Linked DNA regions of Homo sapiens: all the other regions are linked to region 7. Evidence: promoter capture Hi-C in 16 types of primary human blood cells and fetal thymus (Javierre and others, 2016). All regions are on one chromosome and are shown on one strand. Each heading gives the region's core, a stretch centred on a gene start or on the middle of the fragment in contact. The rest is flanking DNA. Distances are from core to core; before and after follow the strand shown. Region 1 has its middle 6.0 kb from the start of DTX4. Region 2 overlaps FAM111A (FAM111 trypsin like peptidase A). Region 3 has its middle 53 kb from the start of CNTF. Region 4 has its middle 19 kb from the start of CNTF. Region 5 overlaps ZFP91 (ZFP91 zinc finger protein, atypical E3 ubiquitin ligase). Region 6 overlaps ZFP91 (ZFP91 zinc finger protein, atypical E3 ubiquitin ligase). Region 7 holds the start of SSRP1 (structure specific recognition protein 1).

Region 1 (2,700 bases), core at 89-2,588, 1.8 Mb before region 7:
ATAACTAATATGTTCTCCATATTTATGATTTTGTCATTTCAAGAATATTATGCAAATGGATCATAGAGCATTCAATCTTTTAAGATAGGCTTTTTCCACTCAGCTTAATTCTCTAAAGATTCATCCAAGTTGTGTGTATCAAGAGAAGTTTGTTTCTTTTTATTGCTAAGTAGTGTTCCATAGTATCCATGGACCACCTTACTGTTCATCCATGGAAGTTCATATAAGTTGTTTCTAGTTTGGGCTATTATGAATAAAGCTACTATGAACACTCTCATCCAGGTTTTTGTGTGAAGGTAAAGTATCCATTTCTCTGTGATAAATGCCTAGGAGTACAATGGCAAGGTCATAGGGTAGTTGCATGTTTAGCTTTTTTAACAAACTGCCAGTTTTCTAAAGTGGCTGCACCATTTTGAATTTTCACCAGCAATATACCCATGATCTGGTCACTACATCTTCACCATCATTTTTTGGTCAGTATATTTTATTTTAGCCATTTTGGTAAGTGTGTAGAGTTATTTCATTGTTTTTAACTTGTTTCCTTATTGACTAATAATGTTGAACATCTTTCCATGCGTTTATTTGCCATATATGCTCTTTGATATCTGTTCAGGTCTTTTGCTGGTTTCTGTTTTCTATTATTGAAATTAGAGAGTTCTTTTTATATTCTAAATATTGGGCTGGGCACAGTGGCTCAAGCTTGTAATCCTAGCACTTTGGGAAGCCCAGTCAGGAGTTCGATTGCCTGAGCTCAAGAGCTGGAGATCAGCATGGGCAACATGGGGAAACCCTGTCTCTACAAAAAATACAAAAATTAGCTGGCCGCGGTGGTGCAGGCTTGTGGTTTCACCTACTTGTGAGGCTGAGGTGGGAGGATCGCTTGAGTCTGGGAGGTTGAGGCTGCAGTGAGCTGTGATGGTGATGTTGCACTCCAGCCTGGGCAACAGAGTGAATCCTAGTCTCAAATAAATAAATAAATAAATACTCTTGGTGGATATATAGTTTGAAAATATTTTTTCTCAATCTGTAGCTTATGTTTTCCATGCTCTTCATAGCGTCTTTCACAAAACAAAAGTTTTTTAATTTGATAAAATACAACTTACCAAATTTTTTTTTTCTAAATGGCTTCTGTTTCCCATGTTAATTTTAAGAACTCTTTGGCTAGTCCTAAGATTTGAATATTTTTTTCCTCTGTTTTGTTCTAAAACTTTCATACTTTTACAACTTCCATGTAAATCTACAATCCATTCTGAGTTAAATTTTTGTGTATGGAGTGAGGTTTGAGTGTCTTTTTATGTGTTTATTTGCCTATAGATGTATTGTCCTAGCGCTATTTGTTGAAAAGGCTTTTCTTCCTCCTTTGAATTGCTTTTGAGTCTTTGTAAAAAAATCAGTCTGGCATATTTGTGTAGATCTATTTCTGGTTTCTCTAGTCTGTTCCATTGACCTATATGTCTGTCCCTTCACCACTACTGCACAATGTTGATTAATAAGCTGTATTAATAAGCTATGTAATGTCTTATTGTAAATTGGGTAGATTGATTCATCTCACTTTATTCTTCTTCAAAATTGTTTAGGCTATTCTGGATCCTTTGATTTCCACATAAATACTAGAATAATCTTGTCTATATGTGCAAAAATTCTTGCTGGGATTTTGATAGGAATTGCATTGAAGCTGTATATCAATTTGAGGAGAATTGACATATTTTTACTGTGTTAAGTCTTCCAATCCATAAACACGATATGGATATGCTTCTCTATTTATTTAGATCTTCTTTGTTTTATGTGTTTTCTAGTTTTCAGCATACCTATCCAGTTCATTTTTTGCTCAATGTACACTTAAGTAGTTCATTTTGTTTCAGAGTGATTATATTAATAAATGGCATTCTATTTTTAATTTTGGTTCCACGTACTTATTGCTGGTACATATAAATACAATGGATTTTTGTATGTTTATTTAGTATCTTGTAAGCTTGCTAAGGAGTCCAAATCTGGGTCTAAGAGTTCTTTTATAGATTCCTTAGGAGTTTACATGTCATCTCCAAATAGGGACAATTTTGTTTCTTCATTTCTGATCCTTATGCTTTTCTTTTCTTTTCTTTTCTTTCTTTCTTTTTTTTTTTGAGACGGAGTCTTGCTCTGTCGCCCAGGCTGGAGTGCAGTGACGCAATCTCGGCTCACTGCAAGCTCCGCCTCCCAGGTTCACGCCATTCCCCTGCCTCAGCCTCCCGAGTACCTGGGACTACAGGCGCCCGCCACCACGCCTGGCTAATTTTTTGTATTTTTAGTAGAGACGGGGTTTCACTGGGTTAGCCAGAATGGTCTTGATCTCCTGACCTCGTGATCCGCCCGCCTTGGCCTCCCAAAGTGCTGGGATTACAGGCGTGAGCCACCGCGCCCGGCCGATCCTTATGTTTTTCATTTCCTTTTCTTGCCTTACTTAGAATTGTATTACCTGGAATTTCCAGTACTATGTTTAATACAGTTGTGAGAATAGACATTCTTGCCTTGTTTCTGATCTTAGATAACATCTAGTTTTTCACTAAGAACTGTGATAATAGCTGTAGGTGTTCATTTTAGATGTTCTTTATCAAGTTGAGGAAGTTTTCCTCTATCCTTATTTTTCTGAGAGTTTTTTAAATCATGAACAGATATTGAGTTTTATTAAATGCTTTTTTGGTATCAATTGATATGATCATG
Region 2 (2,700 bases), core at 93-2,592, 1.8 Mb before region 7:
GCAAATTAGGTATAGCTACACTTTGCTGATGGGGAAAGTATAGCTTAGAGAAGGTAGACGAACTGCCCAAGGCCAGAGCTATGTGGCAGAGATGGAATTCAAATGCAAGTATAAATAATAGAATAATTTTCAGTTGGAAATTTCAAAAAGCTGTTCTAGTTACATTGATGTTAAAATCTGTTATTCATTTAAGATGAAGATGGCAAGGGGAGATAAAATTACAGGGAAGTGGTGAGGATAGAGCTGAGGAAAGAAACTTGGAATGAGATTTTAAAAAGAAATCTGGAAAGTTTGCTAGGGATGATAGTCAGAAACCTTAGTTGCTGCTTTAGATTTTTTGTTTAAAGAGGTATTTTTCCTTCTATCTCTCCTCTGATGTCTCCCTAGAAGAGGATGAACAAACTTTAAATAAAATAGTGACATCTTCAATAGTAATAAATACCGCTAGAAAGATAAATACCATTGAGGGCAGCAGCCATGTCTGTCCTTAGTACCTCAATATTTCAAAACAATGTCTGAGACATGTCAGGCCCTTGAAAAAGATACATTTCTAAAGATACATTCAATAAACGAATGGAGTAGGCATATGGTGTACTATGCCCTGTTCTAAGTGCTTTTCATCAACTATCTCATGTAATTCTTACAACCCTATGAGATAGGTACTATTTGTCTCATTTTACTGGCAAAAGAGCTTGAACACCCAGGGAGATTAAACTTTTACTCAAGGTCATAAAACTCAGAGAATATACTTTCAGGACTTTTTATTATGAACAATTTATTAGAGAAAAAATGAGAGAATGGTATAATGAACTTCTACATACCTATCACATAGTTAATTGTTCATTTTTTTGCCAATTTATGTAACAGTGAAACAGTAAAAGAACTAACATAAAGAACTCTATTTTTGTTCACGGGGTCTTTATCCATTCATGCATGGAGGGGAGGTTAATTTTAGAGCAGTGAGATAATATGCAAAAAAAATGTAGTTTTAAAAACTAGCTCTGGGATTAAAGGGAAAGTATGTAAACAACTATGGATTGTTAAAAATTTACAGGAGGGTTGTGACCTGGAGAACAAATATAAATATAATCTTTAGATAACTTCCATTTGACAAGAAATACAGGGGCTAGAACATAAGCTAAACAACAACATGTAGAAGCAGCCCAGGAAATTAACATTCTATAGAGACAACTTATCTGTTCTCTTCAGCAAATCAATGCTTGGGCTCACTGGAACATCAGGACAAAGACATTCCCAACCTTCTTGGATCCTTGATGGTGCTCAGATGTCTCCAGTCAATGGTCACCTCTTGATCGTAAATCCCTTCTCTTCCCCATGCCCTTAACATAAAGAGCCTGAAACTTGTACTCACTTAAGAGGCTACTTTGGGTTGCTAGTCTGCCATCTTCTCAGTTTGCTGGCTCTCTGAATGAACCTGCTTTTCCTCCCACCAACTCTCATCTCTCATGTTTGGCTTTGAGGTGTGAGTTGCCAAACCCGGGTTTGGCTACCCTTACACCATCCTTTTATTTTACTAGATGATTTATGTTACAGCTAGAAACATCATGACATTTAAACGCTAATGGTCACTTCCCATCTCTAAAAATTACATAATTTTTCTTTTATAATCACAATACTGATTTATTCATACCAAGATCCAACTGAGGTACACAGTTTCCTTTATATGTCTTATAAGGCTCTTTTATTCTAGAAAAAGCACTGATTTGTTGAAGAGAACAGAGAAATTGTCTCTATAGAATGTTCACCTCCTGGGTTGTTTCCTCATGTCATTGTTTAACTTATGTTCTAGCCCCTGTATTTCTTGTCAAATGGAAGTTATCTAAAGGCTATGTTTACTCTCGTAACCATTCCACTATGGAACAAGAGTCCTGGCTTTCTAGTTTACTGTCAGTCATTGACTAGGGAAATTCATTTAGCCTTTCTGAGCCTCAATTTCTTGTTTGTAAAAAGAAGCAATGATTCTAAATGAGATAATGAATATGGAAGTGCTAAAATAATGTTAGAACTTATAAAACTGTCTGAGTTCAAATATCAGGTAGCCACTTACTAGCTGCATGACCTTGGGCATATTAATTAACTATTCTTCCTTCATTTTCCTCACCTTAAGGTGGGAATCAACCTTGTTATAAAGATTAAGAAATATATTGTGGTCTGGGTGCGGTAGCTCATGCCTGTAATCTCAGCACTTTGGGAGGCCAACGCTGATGGATCACTTGAAGTCAGGAGTTCGAGGCCAGCTTGGCCAACCTGGTGAAAACCTGTCTCTACTAAGAATTAAAAATTAGCTGGGCATGGTGGTGGGTGCCTGTAATCCCAGCTACTTGGGAGACTGAGGCAGGAGAGTGGCTTGTACCTGGGAGGCAGAGGTTGCAGTGATCCGAGATCACACCACTGCCCTCCAGCCTGAGGCCTGAGCAACAGAGCGAGACTTCATCTCTCTCTCTCTCTCTCTGTCACACACACACACACAATATATATATACACACATACACACACATATTATATATATTATATATGCAATCTATCTATATATACAGTGTGTGTAAATATATATATATATAGAGAGAGAGAGAGAGCATATGCAAAGCCTTTAAAACACTGCCTGTATGTAATAGGTCCCCCAGTAAATAATCAATAAAAAGGTCATGTAAATGTTATCAATATCAATACACTCACCAC
Region 3 (2,700 bases), core at 25-2,524, 1.3 Mb before region 7:
AAGGGTCAGTAGTACTTGTTATTTCTTCAACTGCCTAATAGTTCAGCTGGCAGTGCTCCTACTTGAAAAATGCTTAGCAAAAATCAAAATGGAGTCAAGGGTCAACCCGCCAAGTTATGCATAAACTAGCTCTGATAAATAACAGCCCTGAGTGAAATTTGTTCCAACTTGTACATCTGTTGATTTTGAGCTGGTCCTTCTCTTCTTGCCTTTCAAACACAACTTTCACTCGTGTATTACAGGTGTTGATGGGTTTGATGGAAGCCCAAACCTCAGCAATACACAATATATCTATGTAACAAAGCTGCACATGTACCCCCTGTTATAAAAAAGAAGTCAGGAGAGGTGGCATTTGCCTGTAGTCCTAGCTACATGGGAGGTAGGCAGGAGGATCACTTGAGCCCAGAAGCTGCAGTGAGCTGTGATCTTTCCACTGCACTCCAGCTGGGTGACAGAGTGAGACCCTGTGTCTAAAAACACAGAATAGATAGATAGATAGATGATAGATGATAGATAGATAGATAGATAGATAAGATAGGTAAATAGAAGATAGAGATATAGATGATAGATAGGTAGATAGATAGGAGATAGATGATAGATAGATAGAGATAGGTAAATAGAAGATATAGATAGATAGATAATAGATAGATGATAGATAGATAGATAGATAGATAGATAGATAGATAGATAGATAGATAGATTCATGGGTGTTGAAAACAGAGCAAGCAGTAAGGAGGCCAGTGTGGGAAAGGGAAGAGTTGAGGGAGATAAGGGCAAAAAGATACAAGGGGTAATCACGTGTAGGGTCTTGTGGGCCATGGTGAAGACTGTGGCTATTTTTCTGAGCAGGGCTTTGAGCAAGAGACAGACATCCATGACTGAGGGGCTGTATTGAGATGAGATTGTGGAAAGGCAAAGGTGGAAGCAAGGAGACAGTGAAGGGTTGGACCAGAGTGGGAATGGTGGAAATGTTGAGAAGTGGTAGGACACTTTAAAGGTAATGCCAAAAGGATTTGCTGACTGATTGAACGTGCGGTGTGGAGGCCACGAAAATTCACGCCTCAGACCTCCTTCTGTCAGTAATATCATTGACCAGTGACCCTAGTAGCTGGCTTTGAAATCCACCCTTCTTACTTCTGATTTCATGCTTCTCACGGGCTTCTCCTGCCTGTAACAGCACAGCAGGAAGACAGGGGACTCTTCTGATGGGGCAATTTTCACCCAAGAACCCCGTGGGCCTAATACCTCCTCTTTTTTTCTCTCCACGAGGGAGACTTAAAGTAGACTTAGATTGCAGACTGACAGCTCTCCCAGCCTCCCCCAGCTCCCTTTCTTTTTGCTTCACAGTCTCCTAATAAATCTCCTGCACATCTAATCCAGTCCAGGAGTTTCAGAAGACCTGGACTAAGGGAGAGAAAGTAGTTCAAGAATGACAACAAGGTCTAGGAAATTGGAATGATGGAGATGACATTTCCTGAATGTATGCCTGCGTGAATAACACTTCCATAGCCTCATAGGTATCCTGGCACTGGTTTGCTGGATGATTTGAATTTGTATTACCTATATGGCTTTGGAGAAAGCCCTTGACAACGTTCAGGACAAAGTGTGCCTGGAGATCCCAGGGCAGTCCCTTGCTCTGGACTTTGCGGACTCCGCTCCGCCAGCAGAGGGCAGCAGAGGTAGCCAAGGCTGCAGAACCAGGATCCCTCCCTGAGAACGCTGAAAGATGATGAGTGCCTCTGAGTTTAAGTTGTTGAGATTTCAGGTGATTTTAGCCTCATGCATAGTATGTATCTATTCACAAAGATTGTGAAATTCACGGATGAAGGAAAAGAGGAGACTTTATTTGCAGAAGGCAAAACAATCCACGGATCTAGGAAACGCTGCCCTGGGGAGAGGGAAAGTGCACTTTGCGCAGAACGGAGGAGGGCTGCTATTTGGTATCTGGGTCGCACACTCAGCCTTACATACATACTAGCAGGGTGGGGAAAAAATGCAAATATGCATGAGGGAAGTCAGGCATTGCACAGTGGAAAACATATATGGAACATACATCCCATATTCACATTTTGGTAGGATTTAACATTAAAATGAAGTGGAATTCGGCCCTTTACATCAAAAGGTAAACTACAGGACATACAGACAATTTTTGAACAATGTCCACAAGCTGACTGAAACTGGCTTAAGGTCTGCAGCTATTGATCAATAAGGAATGTTTATAAGACCCGTCCTCTGTCCAATCTGACTTATGGCAGGACAGCATGGTAGAGGACGGAGCCAGGCAAGGTAGGGAAGAGTGTTGTAGTGTTGTAGGACTTTCTCCTTAGTTCGGCTAAAAGCCAGGTTCTTCTCGCACAACCATGAAAAGTTAGGCTTGCGGACACTCTGCAGGGTGAGAAGGACAGGGTTTATTGGGTGAAAAGGAAAAATGGGGAAACAGGGACTCTCAGCAAAGCGAGAGTCCTGCCAGTGGGCTTCCCACCTCATAGACTGGAATCACCGGGTTACCACCCGGAACAGGAGAAGCCAGGCTCCTCCTCACTGCAAACCAACAGGAAATTCCTCAAGGCTTCACCCGAGTGCGCACTCCTCCCAGTGCGCAGGCCAGTCGGAAGTCCTGCCGGGGAACCCTTTTTACTTGGCTGTCTCAGTAGGCTGGCAACCGGCACTCTGTCAGGGTCAGCTGGGAAATCTTCCAAC
Region 4 (2,700 bases), core at 114-2,613, 1.3 Mb before region 7:
GGCGTAGATAGTTTTAGTTCTCAGAACTCGTCTTCTAAAGTTCCATACATTGAAACCCAAAACCTCTATTTTTAACAGGCTTAATTGGGAGCCAATGCTATAAACAACGAGCCACTGCAGGTTTTTGTCTCAGAGTTTGCCATGATCCCAGCTGTCCTTCAGGAGATGGGAATACTTGTTGGAAGGTTGCAGAAATTACCTAGAGAACATATAACGATGGTATGAATTATGAGTCTCGAGGACATGGTTAATTTAGTGATGCTAGTCATGGCTTTTCTCTGTCTCTGTCTCTGTCTCTCCCTGCTAGTTCTCTGCATCTCTTTCATGAGTCTGGGTCTTCTCCACGCTAAATACTGAGAGTATATATATCCATTGTCAAGTGAGGCAGACCCATGAGAAATCCTTAAGAAAAAGTATCTCAAGAAAGACAGGAAGACTGCAGGAAGCAAGGGATTGCCAGGTGCCTAGTAGTTTCTTTAAACCTACAAGTTTATTGTTCAGGTGATCTTCTCCTGTGTATGTTGGGGTAGAGATGAGGTGCACAAGGAGAGAATAGAAGTTATTTGGAGATTTAACTCAGAATTGCCCTCAGATTGAATCGAGGATGAGAAAGGTCTCAAGACCCTATATGGGATTGAGAACTAAAATTTAAACCTTAAGCACCCACCCCAACCAATTGAACAGACTCTCTCTTGGCCAAGGAGACCTCAGAGAAACCTTAAAAATGGAGTTCCTGGCCATAAGGAGACAAGAGATCACACAAGCCTCGTTATATCCTCTCCCTTTTGTATACAGACACACCAACTGACCAGCATGAATGTTAAAATAGAGATCATATGACTGACAGAACAGACTCTTTGTGGCAGTAAGATATCCAATTATAAACAGGACCTACGCCCATGTCAGGCAAAGGTTAAGTCACGCACCCCTACACTTAAAGAATAAACTTTGTTTTAACTGCCACAAGGTTTTTCTTTCTTAAGCAGCTCAACAAGCACTGGCCTCAAGGAAAGCAATATTAAAATAACTGCAGCTCATTCACCACCATGTGCTGACTAACCGACCTCCTGTTCCACAAGCCATAACTACAGCTTTGATTAGACAAGAAAGAGATTTCAGTAACTTTCCTGGTAAAAGACCACCGACTATGGACTGGTTCTGGTCGGTTTTATAGAGGCTTTGCACTTGAGAACATTTATGTCCCTGTTTTATCTTCTGAAATATAGACAGCCTCATTGTAATAAATTTAAATGTTAAGTACCCTCTCCAATATGAACATAGATCATTTGTAGCATGCATGTTTATTCAGTATGCATGCATCAGAAACCACTTGGTGAATATTCATAGCTTCTCCTGTAACCTGTTGAATATGTATATTTAGCCAACCTATGTAGCATAAAGCTCCTGCCTCAACCCCTCCTTCTTCAAAGTACTGCCTTTCGGTCTCTGTTGAAGGTACACTTCTCAGCCTGTCAGGATGACCATTGGCAGGCTATAACCCTTTATGAGAAATAAAGTCCTGTGTCCAAATCTGCATAGATCTCATGATTTTTCTGTTGGCAAAATTCAGGATCCCTGGGCTACCCCTGACATTAAATTATAAGCCCACTAGACTAAAAGTCCCTCAGACCCCTCAGCCTATCTGTCCCTTAATTAGTATAATCATGGTTAAGTTACTTTTTGTGCCTCTCCTCCTCACATTCACAGATGTTTACAGGAAAAAAAAAAAAAAAGTCAAGGAGATTAAGTCACTTGCCCAGGGTCTGAGAGCCACTAAGCGCAGAGCCATATCTCGAGTCCAGTTCTGTTGAACTCCAATAAACATCTCCTTTCTATTTCCTTCATTTTCTATTATTGCCTCTTCTCCTTTCACAGGGCTCTGATTGTAAAAATATATAGGCAGATAACACTGCAGTTGATAACATTACACTTCTATTGAAAGAAGTTTTTCTTCCTTTGCGATATTATTTCAGATCACTTTGCATCCTCATTTATTCATTCATGGATTCCTTCCCAGCCATCCGTGGAGAGATATGTAGGGTGTGAAATGAGACTCCTACATGCAGGGCCAATATTTAGCCAGTAACCTCAGGAAGGTCATTTGCAGCCAATGTTAGTTCTGATTGGCTGGGGCTGCAACTTGCAGAGTAGTAAATATTTTGACTATTGCCCTTGACTATCTGCCAGAATAATTGTCTGCATTTGTATCCCCTATGGTGCTCAATTAGAATGCACACAGCCCAAGAGAGTGAGGCAGGGTAGGAGGCGGTCTGAGTCTGGAAATACAGGCAAGAGACACAGGGTCAGGGCCATCTCTGCTCCAATCTGTCTTTGTGTGACCTTGTGCACATCACTTCTTTTCTCTGGGAATCAGCTTCTCCATAGGCAAAAGTATATATGGCCTGGCACTATTATATTTTTGTAAAAGAAAGTAGTATGTGCCTATGTGCCTGGGTCCATGTGTGCACACATAGAAACATGTCTGGAAGGTGACACACCTCCTATTTACAGTGGTTATCTCTGGGAAGCACAGCTGGATGAAGAAGGTATTTTTTACCTTATATAACCTCTTTACACTTTTAATTTTCCATAACAAGCATGTGTTGTAATTTTTTTAAGTTAACAGCTAAAAAGTCCTGTTTGTTCCTGTTTTACAGGAAGTCACACTTCTTTTCTAAGGTCACATGAGGACTTGGCATC
Region 5 (2,700 bases), core at 105-2,604, 1.3 Mb before region 7:
CTGTTTTATCACAAAGAATAATAATTGAAACTAAAAAGACATAAATCCTAGATAAAGACAGGGTGATGACAACTCAATGGCATTAAAAGTTAAGAAACAACTGACTTTGTAATACTGTCTGGTGATCTGCTATATTAAAAGACCTACTAACAGATAAATCACAACACAAAAGATTCCAATAAAATCTCAAAACCTTGGCCAAAACACCCATATTTCACATTAGTGCCTACCATGGAATAAGTCCAAACACAGAAGATACTCAAGACATGATTTCTAAGCTATGTAAGTAGATTACATGGTTTAAGTTCTAATCAAGCTCAACATGGAATCTAAATGCAGTATCAAAACTGAAGTTAATTTCTCTTACAGCTCAAAATAATTTCAAATGGAAGCAACTTCTGAATCATTTACTGTGACTATGCTATGTCCCCAAAGGTTTAAAAATGAAATATTAATGTTTTTTTTACCTAATGCCACCTGGAGACTGATGCTCTTCTCCAACATCTAGAAAAACAAAGCCAAAAACAAAATTTTATTAGTGTAGATATAAGATATTTTCTCTCTGCAGTCAAGAAATGCAAATCAAATTACTGCATGGGGTAATTATACAAAAGCAGAATATCTGCAAACTGTTCAAAGAAATACCACCTACACCATCAAACCTGCCCCTGACAGTTAAGCTGTTAACACAAATGTTCAACATTACATTTAAAATGTAACAGCAACTAGTTAGTAAACAGCCATATTCTAGTTGCACTGTACCATAATCAAGTTGGTCTGTATTTGGTTCTGACTTGCAAATGAGCTGCAATGAACCGGTCTTGGACCGAGAGCTTCGGGTGTTCTCTGTATCACGATGGCGAGAAACAGATGTCCTACTACTACGCCAGCCCCGGCTAGGTCTAGATGCAGCAATGGAAACTTCCTGAGGGAGGGCAGAATCGTCTTCTTCCTCTTTTTCTTCCTTGGGATCTAAATAAAAAGACATACCATTCTCTTTAAGTTTACAGTTAACCAATAACCATCCCTGTATATCTACTAATTGTAAATACAGTTGAAGATAAATTAAATATTTTCAAAGGAAAAAAAACTGAAGACTTTAATTGAAATAATAAAAAAAGGAAAATGAGATAAAACTTATCCTTAATGTCATCATGCTAAAGAAATTACTTCATGTTGCAAAGTAGTAATTTTATACTGCCTTATCTTCTAAAAAATGCAATGCTAACTATGCAAAATACACTTAAGTAACTGGATTCATGAAATTCTACCTTTTAGATCTAAGTTAAAAGAAACTAAATTAATTAGTCCCAAAAAGATGACCAGAACTACAGAGGCACCAAAAAGAAAGAACCATAGATCTAGATGTTATTTACAACCAAACAAGTCTATAACAAATTACTAAAGAGGAATTCCTAACAGGAGTACTTTTCACTCTAATCAAGAGTTTTTCTTGGAACCACACCATAAATTTGAACTAATCTATAGAGCAATTGAATGGTAAAGTCCAGCTCTGGTGCTATTCTGTTTCAGTTGTCCTATAAGACATTGTGTACAGGAGCACACACAAATCTGTTATTGTTATCCTATATTTTGTCATGTTTTAAGGGTGAAGTACGGTAGGTCATCCTCTCTTGAGTAGTAAGTAATAAAAAGTTAATCTCAGAAACTGGCTTTCATACCTGGCGTAGCTAAATACTTAGACCTATATAAAAAAAAAGTACATTAGAATTGAGCCCATTTTAACAATAGAAGATTCTTTAATAAACTCAGAACGGGAAAGGCCCAATAATAAAACAAAATTTCAGGTCATAAGATACACATAAAAACAATTTTCCTCATGGCAAAAATCAACCATAAACAAAGTCTAATAACCCAATAGAAAAATAGGAACTAACAGGCCGGGCTCAGTGGCTCACACCTGTAATCCCAGCACTTTGAGTGGCCAAGGCGGGCAGATCAAAAGGTCAGGCGTTTGTGACCAGCCTGGCCAACGTGGTGAAACCCCGTCTCTACCAAAAATACAAAAGGTAGCCAGGCGTCGTGGTGCCTAACTGCAATCCCAGCTACTGGGGAGGCTGAGGCAGGAGAATCACTTGAACCCGGGAGGTGGAGGTTGCAGTGAGCTGAGACTGCGCCACTGCACTCCAGCCTCGGCGAAAGAGCAAGACTCCATTCCAAAAAAAGAAAAAACAAAAAACAAAAGCTCAAAGCTCAATCCACTCAGAACAAGAGACTCAAATGAAAACGATAGCATGACACCATTTTTCATGTATCATATTGGGGATGATCATATTTGACAACATAATGTATTGTCAAGACTGTGGGAAAACAGGTCCTCTAACACACATATGATAATGTATTAGCAAAACCTCCATGCAGACCAATTTGACAATATACATCAAAATTATAAATGTATATACCTTTCCACATGATGTTCAACTACTAGAAATTTATCCTACAAAATTACAATCATATTTATAAATGATTAACATATAGCACTGTTTTTAAGTAGTAGAAGAGTAGAAAACAACATTCAAAGAGGGATTGGTTTCACAAATAATTGTGTACATATGTAAGAGAGAGATATATATGTAAGATATATATACACACAAATATATAACTTATGAAACCAATCCCCCTTTGAATGTTTAGTTGTCTACTCTTCTACTACTTAAAAACAGTGCTACACATTAGTCA
Region 6 (2,700 bases), core at 116-2,615, 1.3 Mb before region 7:
TGAAGGACATTATTAGGGTGAAGAAAAAGTTCTAAAACTGTATTGTGATAGGTGTGCAATTCATACAATGTACCAAGATCCCTAAATTGTACATTTGAAATGGGTGAATTTTATGATGTATAAATTACATCCCAATAACACTATATTTCAAAAATATACATCACAGTACTAGTCATAAAGACTAATAACTGAAAACTGCCCAAACATCCATCAACAGTAAAACAGTTAAACTGTGGTTATATTCCCACAATGGGACACTATACAACAACTAAAATAAACGATCTATGACAAACACAGCATTTGTCACAAATGATGAGCAAAATAAGCGAGACACAAAAGAGTGCCTACTGTATTATCCCATTTATGTAAAATTCAAAAATTGGCAAATCTAATTTCTGCTAAAGTCAAAATAGTGGTTACACTTGGGGGCGGTTGACTTGAAGGAGCATAAGGGAGTTTCCAAAACAATTATGTTTTATTTCTTCAGTTGTGTAAATGGTTACATGATTGGGCTCACCCTGGGTCCACCCACTTATAAAATAAAGAAGGGGGAGGAGAAACAAGAGTACATGTATATGTCTTATAATATGTGCATTTCTGTATACGTATGGTACATTTTAATAGGATTTCTCTAAAAATCACCTGTAATCTCAGGAAAAAAAAAAAACCCAGAAATATCAAATGCCCTTCAGTTAGGTAACGGTTAAATAATAGAATATAAATGTACAGTAGCCATGACTGGATATCCACAAAGCATCTAGGCACCTCTTCTTTCTTAAAGAATCAATCCCACTCTTAAACACAGTGGGAATCCCAATTAAGCTAAGCTAACAGCATCAAAAAATATGAAATACTCAGGGATATATGGGATAAAAAATTTGAAAGACCTATACACTGAAAAGTACAAAACATTGCTGAGTAAAATTAAAAACCTAAGTAAATGGAGCAGTATATCTTGCTTATAGGGTTGTAAATACTAATATAAATTTTATTTTGATTTTATGACTTCGATTTTCTATTTTTTGTTGCTGATATACAGAAATACAACTGATTGATTATACTGTGGGGGTGGTTTCAAGACACCTTGCAGTTACTGCCTTCAGGATTTTGGAACACTGCGCCACAACCACCATAATATAAAACAAGTCTGAACTGAATGACCAATGAGGAGGGGGGAATGGCCCAACCAGTAAATAATAAATTGCTGTGTTTTAAGCCACTAAATTTTTAGATGGTTTGTTATGAAGCTAAAGAAGCCTTTGCCCGGATAGCATTAGATTATTCAGGCTGGTTTTAATTCAGAGGAATTTCTTCTTTCTTGAACTTAACAGTCAAGGGGCAATATTACTTTTTGTCACAGATTCTTATCCACTAAGGCTCATTTCAAAATGAAGATACAAGCAAGTCTCTCTTAAAGGTTTTGGATTTGTACTGGCTGAATATGGCTTTCCCCACTAAGGATTTTAAGTTTCCTCTGCTTCAGTTTTCTTCTATCAGGGCATTCTGCTTTAACTCTCAAGTGGTCTTGGCAGGAAAAGGGATCTCAATGTAAAATAATATATATAGCAGAATAAACTTATAACTGTGTCGAAGATGGCAATAAGTTGAGCTGTAATAGGCAAATTATTATAAAGTTAAGACTCATTTACCTGATAGGTAATCCCATAACTGAAATAAGCTGATGATCAAGGCTTTTTAAGCCTACATCACAATTCACATATTATAAGTGACATATATCTTTATTTGTAGGAAATTAATAATGGAAAAGAACCAAAGGAGGTTTGGATGTCTGAACTAGCAATACGGATTAAAGGATCTGGGCCATACCCAACATGGAACAAGATGTCTGAGTAAATTATTCTCATACTAAGAGAAATAATACAGTTACTGCTACCTTAAGATAAAAGATTAGGAAGGAAGGACAAACAAAAATGTCTATCTACTGTATTTAGCCTTTGAGGCTTGAACATTATATTGTCAGAAACTTGAGTTTCTGAAACCTAACTGAACTACTCTGTGTATTTCTATCACTAGCTGCACTTTGTTTTCCATAAATAATTAAAGTTTGCTTTGAAATATTAGCCAATCTCAGTAGTATTAAGAGAAGCCAGGGAAAGAGGCTTTTGTTGTTGTTGTTGTTTTTAACTTACATTTAAATTTAGAACAGTATCATTTAATTGGTAAAGGGGAATATTTCAGTTAAAACTAACAGGCTGGGTGTAGTGGCTTATGCCTATAAATTCCAGCACTTTGGGAGGCCGAGGCAAGAGGACTGCCTAGCCAGACCAGGCTAGGCAACACAGTGAGACCCTGTCTCTACAAAAAAATCAAAAACAATTAGCTGGAAATGGCGGCACACTTCTGTAGTCCCAGCTACTTGGGAAGCTGAGGCAGGAGGATGGCTTGAGCCCAGGAGATCAACACTGCAGTGGGCCATGATCACACCACTGCACTCCAGCCTGGGCAATAAAATGAGACCCTGTCTCAAAAACAAACAAAAAAAACCTTAAAAGCCTATCTGAGTGTTAAGACTGGGCTTATACACGCCCTTTCTCACCTACAGATTTTCCTTCCAGAACTCTTTTTCTATTCAAAACCTAAAAGATTTTATTTTGACTGGGAAAACTAGGTCATTAGCAAGGAGATTCAAAATCTTTCAAGAAAGAATTGTGAAGACAATGTTCTCAGTATCTTCTCGAT
Region 7 (2,700 bases), core at 64-2,563:
TTCTCATGCCTCAGCCTCCTGAGTAGCTGGGATTATAGGCACCCGCCACCACGCCTGGCTAATTTTTGTATTTTTAATAGAGACGGGGCTTCACCACGTTGGCCAGTCTGGTCTCAAACTCCTGACCTCAAGTGATCTCCCTGCCTTGGCCTCCCCAAGTGCTAGGATTACAGGTGTGAGCCACCGTGCCTGGCCGGGGATGTTTTCACCTTGTTCAAGTTTCCTCAAATCTGAGAAGTGTGCTAAAGTAGTAATAGGCCCTCAATATCTATTTATTAAACCCAGTTGAATTTATTTTGCTAGATAATGCTGGAATAGCCACTACTCAGAGGTTAAAGCTATGAGTTCAGGGGAGAAGGGTGCATTCCTGTTGTCTCTTACCCCAGGATTGATTTAGCAAGCTGGTGTATTGATTGTCAGGGAAATCTTGAGCTTACATATTCTGTACTAATGTCTTCATGTAGGACACATATCAATAGTCATTCTGAACATACAGTCACTGTGATTATGACAGAAGATAACTGGACTGGTGGTGTTAAGGAGGTCTGGGTCCTACCTAGCCTTGTTGCCAACGCACTGAGACCCTGGGCAACTCACTCCCCTTTGGGTCTCAGTTTTCCCATCAGTAAAAGGAGGTTGGGGTAGAAAAACTAAAACATCTTTTCCAGGTCTGGTCTCTGATGTTGCAAAATGCACTCTGGGATTATACGGGGGAGACCTGGCTTCCGCAACCACAGGATGATGTGGTTTCAAATCAGTTCTGGCTCCAAGGTGAATCTGACACCAGGACTTGAACTGGATAAGGCCGTTTGCCAGCCTCTTGGAGGTACCTATAATTTTCGGTTAAGGATGTGAAAATTTTGGGTGTAGACAGTGAACTTGACAGTTCAGCCAGAAAGCAGTGCACCCACGATGACACCAACACCCGCATACTCTCCGCAGCCAGTGGGAGAGGTCGTTTCCTCCCACAACTGTTCAAATACTTCTCTTCTTGTCCCATCGACTCCTTTCCATGACATAGAAACTATTTTGCAGAGAAACGGGCACGCATCATTCCAATACACACCCCCACCCCACCCCTGTACTAAGTCTGATACAATAAAACTACACAATTTCTCTTTAGTATCTAGTCTCGACTGAAGAAGTGTCTGTAGTTTCTAAAGAGCCCTACACACATTTTCTAGGCCGGATTCCCCCTGGGTGAGAGAGGCTTCACGGCAACCACCCTTCCCTCAGGTCCTCCAGAGTCGCTGACGCTCTATGCGACTGTCTCGCAGGCGGGCCCGACTCGCGTCTCTCTAGCCAGCTCATCCTCTCTGTGGCCTGTGTACGGCTTCCGGTGGCGGGACGCGGGGCCGCGCACGCGGGAAAAGCTTCCCCGGTGTCCCCCCATCCCCCTCCCCGCGCCCCCCCCGCGTCCCCCCAGCGCGCCCACCTCTCGCGCCGGGGCCCTCGCGAGGCCGCAGCCTGAGGAGGTAGGTGGTGGTCGTCCCCGGTCCCAGGAAGGCAGGGGCCCCGCTCCCCCACGGGACCCTCGACATGGACCATTCCGCGTTCGCAACCGCGGGGAGCGGGCGAATCCATTATGTGGGGCGGGGGTGAACCGTGGGTCTGGGGCCGCGGGGTGGTGGGAGCGGTGCGAGGGAAACCCTGCACTCTGAGCTGGATTGGGTCGCGTGCGATGTGCGGGCTCCTGGCAGACCCTGGGGTTCCGCTGCTCGTTGCCATGGCTCCCGCCGGAGCGGCCAGAGCGGGCGTCGGGTTGGGTGTCAGCGGTATTCCGGGCCCGGTTCTCCACCCAGGCCTGGACCTGGACCCTCGGGCACTGCAGCGTCCGTCTGTAGGTTTCCAGGCAGAGGAAATCCTGAGACATCCAGGCGCAGCTGGGAGTTGCTACCTGGCTCCATCCGTGAGCACAGCGAGGTGCTGTCTTTCATGCTTATCTGTCTTCCTCTTGAATTCAGATTCCCAACCTGCTGAGCATCCGCACACCCACTCAGGAGTTGGGGCCCAGCTCCCAGTTTACTTGGTTTCCCTTGTGCAGCCTGGGGCTCTGCCCAGGCCACCACAGGCAGGGGTCGACATGGCAGAGACACTGGAGTTCAACGACGTCTATCAGGAGGTGAAAGGTTCCATGGTGAGAATGGCTTGGACAGGTGATACAAGTAGAGAGAAGGAAGGAGGGTAGAGTTTTTGTCCATTAATGAGAGCTTGCTTTGGTAACGTTATTTTGGAAAAAGAAGACTCAGTATAATGTGTACCTAGTGTCTCCACCAACTCAAGGCAATACTGAGAGATAGTCTCAGAGTTATAGGGACCGTATATGCTGTTCAGTTCCCAATTCCTGTTTTACAAATGAGGAAACTGAGAATCTGTTAAGGGTTCTAGATACCAGAGTCTGGTTTAGAATCTAGACTCCTTGGCACCCTCAGCTGTTGCTCCTGCATTGATAATCTGGCCAGTCCACTTGCAGCAGGAATGTGTGTTAGGTAGAGCTGTAGAACCCAGGACATGCTGTGTACTGTCTCCATGCATCTGGGCCTGCTTTTCTTACAGAATGATGGTCGACTGAGGTTGAGCCGTCAGGGCATCATCTTCAAGAATAGCAAGACAGGCAAAGTGGACAACATCCAGGCTGGGGAGTTAACAGAAGGTATCTGGCGCCGTGTTGCTCTGGGCCATGGACTTAAACTGCTTACA

Evidence for each region. Contacts are between HindIII fragments. The CHiCAGO score rates a contact against its expected background, and 5 or more counts as called.
Region 1: a contact is called between a fragment that was not itself captured here and the fragment with the promoter of SSRP1 in region 7, in 1 of 17 cell types (non-activated CD4 T cells). The highest score is 5.6, in non-activated CD4 T cells.
Region 2: a fragment that was not itself captured here is called in contact with the fragment with the promoter of SSRP1 in region 7 in 4 of 17 cell types (total CD8 T cells, non-activated CD4 T cells, fetal thymus and 1 more); the score reaches 8.2 in total CD8 T cells.
Region 3: a contact is called between a fragment that was not itself captured here and the fragment with the promoter of SSRP1 in region 7, in 4 of 17 cell types (activated CD4 T cells, total CD4 T cells, naive CD8 T cells and 1 more). The highest score is 5.5, in activated CD4 T cells.
Region 4: a fragment that was not itself captured here is called in contact with the fragment with the promoter of SSRP1 in region 7 in 6 of 17 cell types (non-activated CD4 T cells, naive CD4 T cells, total CD4 T cells and 3 more); the score reaches 9.9 in non-activated CD4 T cells.
Region 5: a fragment that was not itself captured here is called in contact with the fragment with the promoter of SSRP1 in region 7 in 5 of 17 cell types (naive CD8 T cells, total CD4 T cells, activated CD4 T cells and 2 more); the score reaches 8.2 in naive CD8 T cells.
Region 6: a fragment that was not itself captured here is called in contact with the fragment with the promoter of SSRP1 in region 7 in 5 of 17 cell types (naive CD4 T cells, fetal thymus, total CD4 T cells and 2 more); the score reaches 9.0 in naive CD4 T cells.

The regions. Positions count from the first base shown.
Region 1 is chr11:59,164,791-59,167,490 of GRCh38, reverse strand. No RefSeq gene overlaps it. Among named protein-coding and RNA genes, the nearest start is that of DTX4, 6.0 kb to the left of the region's middle. The HindIII fragment of the contact is 1,273 bases long and covers 702-1,974 here.
Region 2 is chr11:59,145,854-59,148,553 of GRCh38, reverse strand. It overlaps FAM111A (FAM111 trypsin like peptidase A), which reads right to left. Exons shown (of 6, transcript NM_001312909.2): 4 at 2,698-2,700. Among named protein-coding and RNA genes, the nearest start is that of FAM111A, 4.3 kb to the right of the region's middle. The HindIII fragment of the contact is 5,528 bases long and covers 1-2,700 here.
Region 3 is chr11:58,674,709-58,677,408 of GRCh38, reverse strand. No RefSeq gene overlaps it. Among named protein-coding and RNA genes, the nearest start is that of CNTF, 53 kb to the right of the region's middle. The HindIII fragment of the contact is 5,613 bases long and covers 1-2,700 here.
Region 4 is chr11:58,640,634-58,643,333 of GRCh38, reverse strand. No RefSeq gene overlaps it. Among named protein-coding and RNA genes, the nearest start is that of CNTF, 19 kb to the right of the region's middle. The HindIII fragment of the contact is 4,055 bases long and covers 1-2,700 here.
Region 5 is chr11:58,608,102-58,610,801 of GRCh38, reverse strand. ZFP91 (ZFP91 zinc finger protein, atypical E3 ubiquitin ligase) reads right to left here. Exons shown (of 11, transcript NM_053023.5): 3 at 763-972; 4 at 468-504. It overlaps ZFP91-CNTF (ZFP91-CNTF readthrough (NMD candidate)), which reads right to left. Exons shown (of 13, transcript NR_024091.1): 3 at 763-972; 4 at 468-504. Among named protein-coding and RNA genes, the nearest start is that of CNTF, 13 kb to the left of the region's middle. The HindIII fragment of the contact is 4,165 bases long and covers 1-2,700 here.
Region 6 is chr11:58,588,876-58,591,575 of GRCh38, reverse strand. The region is part of intron 2 of ZFP91 (ZFP91 zinc finger protein, atypical E3 ubiquitin ligase); the gene reads right to left. The region is part of intron 2 of ZFP91-CNTF (ZFP91-CNTF readthrough (NMD candidate)); the gene reads right to left. Among named protein-coding and RNA genes, the nearest start is that of ZFP91-CNTF, 11 kb to the right of the region's middle. The HindIII fragment of the contact is 5,379 bases long and covers 1-2,700 here.
Region 7 is chr11:57,334,505-57,337,204 of GRCh38, reverse strand. SSRP1 (structure specific recognition protein 1) reads left to right here and starts at 1,313. Exons shown (of 17, transcript NM_003146.3): 1 at 1,313-1,475; 2 at 1,965-2,137; 3 at 2,557-2,700. The coding sequence starts at 2,084. It also overlaps a transcript of P2RX3 not described here. RefSeq lists enhancers at 1,175-1,224, 2,075-2,144 and a silencer at 1,395-1,574. The HindIII fragment of the contact is 4,158 bases long and covers 1-1,375 here.